Regions from separate parts of the Homo sapiens genome. Here region 2 is linked to region 1. The links are contacts of gene promoters, found by promoter capture Hi-C in human tissues and cell types (Jung and others, 2019). All regions are on one chromosome and are shown on one strand. The core of a region is centred on a gene start or on the middle of the fragment in contact, and the rest is flanking DNA. Distances in the headings are between cores, read along the strand shown. Region 1 holds the start of TAC3 (tachykinin precursor 3). Region 2 holds the start of LRP1-AS (LRP1 antisense RNA).

Region 1 (3,655 bases), core at 1,099-3,598:
AAGTTCTAGAGCTGTTGCCCAGCACGGGCTCTTGATTGTCCCTGTGATTTTTTTTTTTTTTTTAGCAACTTGCGTACAGCAGGGTGGTGGGCACACACCACACAGCCAGTTAATTGCAGCTGCAGAGAGACAATAACAATGATCATGGCTGGAGATTTTCATCTCAAATCTCAAGTCTCAGCAGCGCCTCTCTTTCCAGAACCCAGGCATCCTTCGGCTGTTGTGCACACACAGAAGTGCATTTACACAGAACACACCCCCACACATACCAACCCAGTTGCCTAGGCACACCTATGTACTACCCTCTTCCTGCCCCAATTTCCCTCATCCTCACAGACTCTCAAGGAGAAGGGGTAGGATGGCAATCCCTCTCATTCATTGACCAAGAGGGGCAGAGGGGACATCTCATTGGCCAAGGTCTTGAAACAAGTTTGTCTCAGAAGAACTCAGATACTCTAACTATCCTGGGCTGGAACTTTGTGGCTCCAAACGGTGTCCAGCCCATACTTGGCACTCCCCTGGGTGTTTTTTTTTTTAACGGTTCTGGCCTTTTGGATATGGCACAACTGCTGCCACCTGCAAGGCTGCCCTGGTGATAACTCCCTTGGCCCAGCATGTGGTGTTCAGGCAGCCACTTTTCCCAAATTGTTGAATACTCTGCCCACCTCCTATAATGAGATGCTGAACAGATTTGAGCTGAAGAGGCAGTTAAACTTCACACATTGAATTTGTAATAAGTCCCACCCGCAATCATCTTAAAAGCATTTGTACCGATGTAATTGCTGTCATTTCAAAACCTTGAAAAGACTTCCTCCCTATCCTCCCCCTGTACCCCTACCCTGACAATTCCTATTCTTTTTCGTAAAGGAACTGTGGAAATCGAGGCTCAATCTGGTTTTTTTGCTGTTGTTGTTTTCCTATCCTGACTAAGCAGAGGATAGAGGCGGGCAAGGGAGAAAAGAGAAGAAGGAAGGGGTTGGGATCTTAGAAGCACCTGAGGTTACTGGGGGTGGATGAGCAAAAGATAAGGGAATTTATTTGCATTTTGAAAATAAAACAATACACATAACTGATAGGTAAAATAGCACACAAATAACCATTTGGGAAAGAAATTCTGACTGTTTCATACCATCCAGGAAATAGAAGAGATCTGTCCCTTGCAAAGGGACCTGAGGTAGACTATAGAGAGCCTTAGACCACCCTAGCTCACCCCTCACAGTACCATCCAATCACCAAGTCTCCCATCAATCAACCCACCAAACAACATATTTGTAGGGCACCTTTTATGTACAAGGTGTCAAAGACATGCAGAGATACAGAGACACAAACACACCTGGAGACAGTGGGAACATGAAAGGACCAGAGAAACAAAGAAATCCAAAGGGAGGCAAAATGCCCTCTGACGGACAACCCCCCCACCCCAGTTTCCTCACTACAGCTGTCCAGACAGGCAGAGTCCCAAGTTCCCGTGATGTCCCCAGTACTCTGCCAGGGGAGACTTACCTTGCTGCGGCCCCCGCCAGGAACCACCTCCTCCTGTGGCTCCTTACAGACAGCCCCAAAGCTCTGAGCTAGGCTGAAGGCCAGGATGGCTGTGAATAGCAGCATGATCCTCATGGTGCCTGGGAGAGCAAAGGGACAGGACTCAGGTAAAGGAGAGAAGAGGAAGATACAGCATGGGTGAAGACACAAGAGACATTCATTACCAGCAGCTTGGCTTGACCCTGCTTCCCCAGCCCCCAACTCCACTGTCCAAGCCCTGGTCTGGAGAGAGGGTGGAAAGTATTTCTGAGAAGGGGGTACAGCCCTTGGGCTTAGTTTCCCTGCTACCCCATCAGATATCTCCCCAGGAGATGTGCAATGCTATAGTGGTGCCAGGAGGACTCTAGCTCCCAAGAAAGATGATAGATTTGTAGGACATGGACTGGTCTGTTTCCTCAGTCAGCTGGAGGAGGGATCCTGGATGCTATTTTCCAGTACTAGATAATCCCAAGACTTAGGCAAAAACTTTCTGGTATGAAAGAATGAGTCTGTAGCCACAGGCTCCAAACACCAACCAGCTCTCGGCCCTACAGGTGCTTTGTGCTCACCTTCCCAGTCCCCTGCTCCCCTATCAGAGGCTGCCATCTGCTTTATTCCCTCCTGACGCTGGCTCCTGTCCCCTGGTGCCAGCTCTGGTCCATCCAGCATTCTCCCACTTGCCTACCTGTGGAGCAGCTCTGTGCCGGGGGCTGGGTGGTCTGGCAGGATCAAGGAACTGGCTAGGACCGCTGCCTGCTCCCCTCACACACTGGTGCTGCCGGTGCTCCTGCAAAGAGAGAAACCGAGTGGAGGGGATCTAGGAAGGCTGCAGTCACTCAGTCCCAGCTCCCTGATAAAGGCTCTGGGAGGGTCTAGGGGAGCTGAGGGGAGGGGCTGAGAGTCACCAATCCCAGGGTGGCTGGAGGGGAGGCGGGGAGGCTGTAGGGGGGAGGAGGATGCAGACAGTAGCCACACACCCAGACACACACATACCCCACAGACCCAGCAGTGAGACCATTTCCTAACAGCACCCGAGCTGGCTGCTGTGTATGGTTTGTGTACAGTTTGACACTGCTGGGGCTTAGAGGACAATACTCCAAAATGAAGGCCTCAATAGCCGCCTCAGAAGCAGAAGTTTTTCTCTGACCCTCTCTTGTCCTCTTGTCACTCGGTTCCATTCTCCCCCAAGACCAGCTATAAAAACCAGAACCCCTTTGCCCCAAAGCCAGCCATAAAACCTAAAATTACTCTATGTAAAAACTGGCCAAAAAAATTATCTGACCGGCCGAGTGCAGTGGCTCACGCTTGTAATCCCAGCACTTTGGGAGGCCGAGGCGGGCGGATCACGAGGTCAAGAGATCGAGACCATCCTGGCCAACATGGTGAAACGCTGTCTCTACTAAAAATACAAAAATTAGCTGGTCATGGTGGCGCGTGCCTGTAATCCTAGCTACTCGGGAGGCTGAGCCGAGATTGCACCACTGCACTCCAGCCTGGTGGCAGAGCAAGACTCCATCTAAAAAAAAAAAAAAATTCAGAAAAGATGACACTCACCCCTTTTTTGGGGTCTCCTACTTTCGTTGTGGAGTTTCACGAGTCATGGGCAGATTCTTCTCAGGTCTAAAGCTCTGCTCTCTTCTACACTACATTACCTAATCTCTTTGGTTTTTGAGGATGCCAAAAATAAATTACTTTGTATTATTTAAAAAACTAGACATATAGCTAGTCATATATAATAACTAGATAAAAAATACAGTTTTAGAGATGACTTATGACAGTTATTCACAACAAAGTATTACTACTATACAGGGCTACTTATTTCTTCGTGCATTTAAATTTTTAAAAACATGGTCTGGGGCACCTAAAGACAATGAAAGCACTCACCATTGAGGATGAAACTCCCATTAAAAATAGGCTAAGCACGCCAGGCATGGTGGCTCACGCCTGTAATCCCAGCACTTTGGGAGGCCGAGGCGGGCGGATCACTTGGGGTCAGAAGTTCGAGACCAGCCTGGCCAACATGTTGAAACCCCATCTCTACTAAAAATACAAAAAATTAGCTGAGCATAGTGGCTGGTGCCTGTAATCTCAGCTACTTGGGAGGCTGAGGCAGGAGAATCGCTTGAACCCACGA
Region 2 (4,052 bases), core at 569-3,068, 130 kb after region 1:
CAGGGAAGGTGGACCCTATCTTGAACAGAGGCCGGGAGTTACACAGGATGGTCCTGTCTGGGGCAGGAGAAGCAGGAGGCTGGATACAATGGTGTGTGTTTGAGGCAGGGGCAGAGCCACCGGCACGCTCCCTCCCAGCTCTCTGAGCAAGTGTCTGGATGGCCCCTGCATTTCTGGCCAAGGGCTGAGGGGGCAGTGAATGGTCAATCTCCAGAGACCAGGGACTGTCCCTTCTCTGAGAGGGGAGTGTTGACTAGACTGCAGAGGGACTTTCCGGTGCAGTGGGAGCCAAGGCTAGGGAAAGAAGGAGCGGAAGCCTGAGGTGCCCTGTTAGGCTGCAGCTGAGGGTAAAGGAGCTGGGGCCCAGCTGCTCTGTCTCCATGGGCCATCGTTTCCCTCGGGGACCATTGCCAATGGACTCTCTGCTGCCATCGGGGGAGGGCAGTACTGAGGTTATTTCTCTGTGGCTTTGTGGCAGTGAATGAGGCTGGGAGAGGAGCGTGAGCCACATGAGATTTTAGAATATCCTGGATGCTTCCATTCAGGCTTCTCCCTAGGCTACACTTTTGCTATCCTAGTTGTGGAAGAAGGGGTGTCACAGAAAGGGGCACGAGCATAGCTGGGTGTAGACCCACTGCCGGGAACAGCCCTGCCCATCTCAGAGGCTGTTACACCAGCAACCTTAAAAGTCAACATCTGGCAGCATCACATTTCCAAAGAAATGCACCACAGGGCTGAGAGGAAGAATCTGGCCTGTGGTTGATCTGACCCCCTAAGGGAGATTAACTTGATCTGTAACTGTTTAGTAAACCAGAATTCCCATCTCTGCCTTGGTTTCCTAATCTGCATAATGGGTTTGAGCTTGTCTGTCTAGATCAGATTAACTGGAGTGAAAGCCAGTGGTAAAGGACAGCACACTTTGAAGTTGAGGATTGTGAACCTTGGGCCTCTCTAGAAGATCTTCAAGTTTCTTTATTTGGTTCTTGTGATGAAAAGAAAGATCCCAGGAGGTTACAAGGGATTCATTCTGGGAGAGAGAAAGGCCCCTCCCCGGGATGGTGGCGAGCAGGGGTTCCTCTGAGAGCCCTCACTCTCCGTGGCCTCAGCGTAAGGTTCACATTTCTGCCTTTGGCTCCTCCAGAGCATCCCTGATAGCGTCCTTGGGCTGCTGCTGTCCACAGCTCACCTGTGATCAGACATGTGTCCTCCTTGGGGTGCTGAGCTGGGGGCTGTCAAGCCTGGTTGGCTGAGCTCTTAACGAGTGGGCGACTCAGGGAACCCCATGGCTGATGGGGTGGGATTGGTGCTAGACCCTCTTGTGCAGCTGCCCTCCCCCTGTTCCTTGTCCACTGACCTACTCAACAGGCCTGTCTGGGCAGACAGCTTGTCAGTTTCCTCCCCAGCCCTGCATCTTGCCATACAGTGGGCTTCTGGGTAGGTGGCTATGGGGTGTCCTGGAGGTAACCTTCTCAACTTCTACTCTGGCCTCATCTCCTTATCTGACTTCCTCCCCAGGAGAAGCTGGTACCCCTCCCTTGGCAAACAGATTTGCCTTGCCTCCCAGTCTGCTAAACTCACTGGGCCTCTCAGGGGCAGAGTCCAGGAGGCTAGAAGAGTCCAAGGGGAAATGCTTGTGGGGTAAATGAGTGGGTTTCTCTCATCCCAGCTTCTGTCCCTTCCTCCCTGCCCTCCCCCTGCTCCACGTCCCTGCCGCCTGAATGTCTGGCTGTCACCCTGAGGATGGTTGTTTTGCTCTCTCCCACAAACTAATTATGGGTCCCAAACTGAGGACGTCAGTGTCTCTCCCCTAGCCCCTCCCCCAGTTTCTGGGTCATCCCCCTCCCCAGGAGATGCTGACTGGCCTGCCCTGGTGTGTAGGGTGGCTGGTCCCAGGCACTCACCTGCACAGTGGCTGCTGGCCTGTAATTAGCTCCCCAAGGAGGACGAAGAAGAAAGGCTGCAGCTTTCCCCTGCTTTCACTCTGCCCTCCAGGGCAGCCCTCCCTGCAAGCCTTCCATTCTGTGCTGTGACTGTGACCTCTGTTGGACCCCTGGGGCTGAGCCTCATGCAGCAGGGGTGCACACAGAGGGAGGAGTCTGACAATTGAGGGGTGTTCGAGCCAGCGAGGCCAGCCCGCTGGTGCAGGCAGAAGGGGGAGCCTGCCCCAGAGAAAACTCTGGAAGCAGAAATAGAATAGAAAGAAGGAAGGAGGCCAGGAAATGAGCCTGGTTCACATGTGTCCTGGGCCATGTGAGTCAGACCTGTTGTGGAGTCCTGAGAGCCCCCGAGGGCCCCCCTGAGGCCCTGCAGTGTGTGAACATTCCTCTTCAATGCCCCAGGGCTGCTGACCCTCCTGCCTCAGGCCCAGTGTTATCCCCCTGGATTGGGTGGGTCATCTCTTTTCCTCCCACCTGAGATTACCTCCCCCTCCCCTCTGCCGCTGGCCCAGTGGTTTGGGGAGGTCTATGAGGCTCGAATTCCAAGACCAGAGAACTCCATGGTGAGAGCCGGAAGAGAAGGCAAGACCCTTGGCCAGTACCAAGAGCAGCCCTGGCTTTCACTACTGCTTTCTCAAAGGGGCTATGCATTGATTTGATTTTAGATGGTACCTGGACAAGCTTTTTTTTTTTTTTTTTAACTGTTATAGTTACGTTTTTATTTGATATGCATTAGGAAACTCCTGTAACTAGCACATCAAATCTGTTACTTCAGCAATTGTTTAGCATGCAGCGAAATAAGAAAAGTAAGTTAATTGAAATAACTGGTAATAAACAGTAGCGCAAGCTGTACATAAGCATGGTAGACATTTTGAAAGTGATACACAAAAGACTAAAGTTCTGAAAATTGAGGCCCAGAGGGATCAACAGGCCTGATAGTCCCTTAGTCAGGAACCAGGCCTGCGCACTCTCACCCCCACCTCTGACCAGTCTCTCAGCTCCAGAGGCCTATGGAGCCTGTAACCCAGCTTTGTCCAGCCTCCTGCCAGGCTGCCCCTGGGCAGGCCTGGTGGTGCAGTCTACCGACCCCAGCCCAGCCCTGCATTTCCTAAGCTGAGCTCCTCTGATCTGTATTCCCTTCACCTTGGAGGATGCCACCACTGTAGAAAGAATGAGGCAGACTGCAAGATTGGGGTCCTGGGAACATGGGTGTGTATGGTGAGGGGAGGTTCTGAGGTTGTAAATAGAGGCCTTGAAGGAAATCGGGTTTGCTGAAGTCACTCAGGAGTTTGGACTGTGTGTGAAAGGATGGTCTGAAGGGGCTCTCAGAGGTCTCAGGGTTCCCCTCCCTGCACCATGCTGCATGGGGAAGAAGGAGGTGGCTGGGGAGCTCAGCAAAGGGCCCCTAGGCTGCAGGCAGCAAGGTTGCGAAATGGGTCCCAGGTCCAGCTGGCCAACTTCACTTTTCCCTTCCTCTCCCTTTCTTTTATTTATTTATTTTTTTAGTGTGTGTGTTTTCGAAATCACAACAGGAAATGGGGTAGTGATTTGTCTAGAGGGGAGGCAAAGAAGGGGCAGACAGCAGTCCCTCTGAGTCTAATGAACTGGCTGCTGCTGCTGGAAGGGGTGCTACCTCCCCACTGTGCTGGGCACCCCTGGACCCTCTCAGCCTCCCACCCTGCCTACAAAGCACTTCCAGACTTCACATGTGAAAGCTAACCATGCCCATCCTTGGCCTTTCTGACCCATGGGATGCCAGGCTGTTTGGGGAGGGGTGGCTCTAGCCACCCCACTCTTTGGCCTTAGGCCCCCTGCATCCTGGCACTTTTGCTTCCCATTCCTGTTCTGAGTTTCCTAATCATTTAACAGCTCACTCTTGCTCCTCCTCTCTCCTGGCCCGGGCCAGCCCTGTGTCTCCCGGCCCAGATCCAGCCCTGTCCTCTCCTCCCCCGCTGTCTCCTTGAAATTGCCTCTCCACCCAGACTGCTCCCAGCACTCCCCTTGCTGTTTTCAAGCCAAAGGAAGTAACTTAAGCAAGAGAGATGTGTTTTAGAGCCCGGCAAGGATTTCTCAATAGAGGGAAGACCCTAAGATGGGCTGAGTGGAATCCAGGCA

What was found. The method cuts DNA at HindIII sites, captures the fragments that hold promoters and counts their contacts. A contact is called where the count stands out against the background at its distance.
Region 2: a contact is called between a fragment that was not itself captured here and the fragment with the promoter of TAC3 in region 1, in 1 of the 25 tissues and cell types used here (pancreas).

What each region holds. Positions count from the first base shown.
Region 1 is chr12:57,014,181-57,017,835 of GRCh38, forward strand. It overlaps TAC3 (tachykinin precursor 3), which reads right to left and starts at 2,349. Exons shown (of 7, transcript NM_013251.4): 1 at 2,207-2,349; 2 at 1,504-1,622. The coding sequence starts at 1,617. The HindIII fragment of the contact is 18,684 bases long and covers 1,891-3,655 here.
Region 2 is chr12:57,145,538-57,149,589 of GRCh38, forward strand. All of the region lies in intron 6 of LRP1 (LDL receptor related protein 1), which reads left to right. LRP1-AS (LRP1 antisense RNA) reads right to left here and starts at 2,082. Exons shown (of 2, transcript NR_131938.2): 1 at 1,902-2,082. RefSeq lists enhancers at 696-1,624, 3,482-4,052. The HindIII fragment of the contact is 3,961 bases long and covers 1-3,799 here.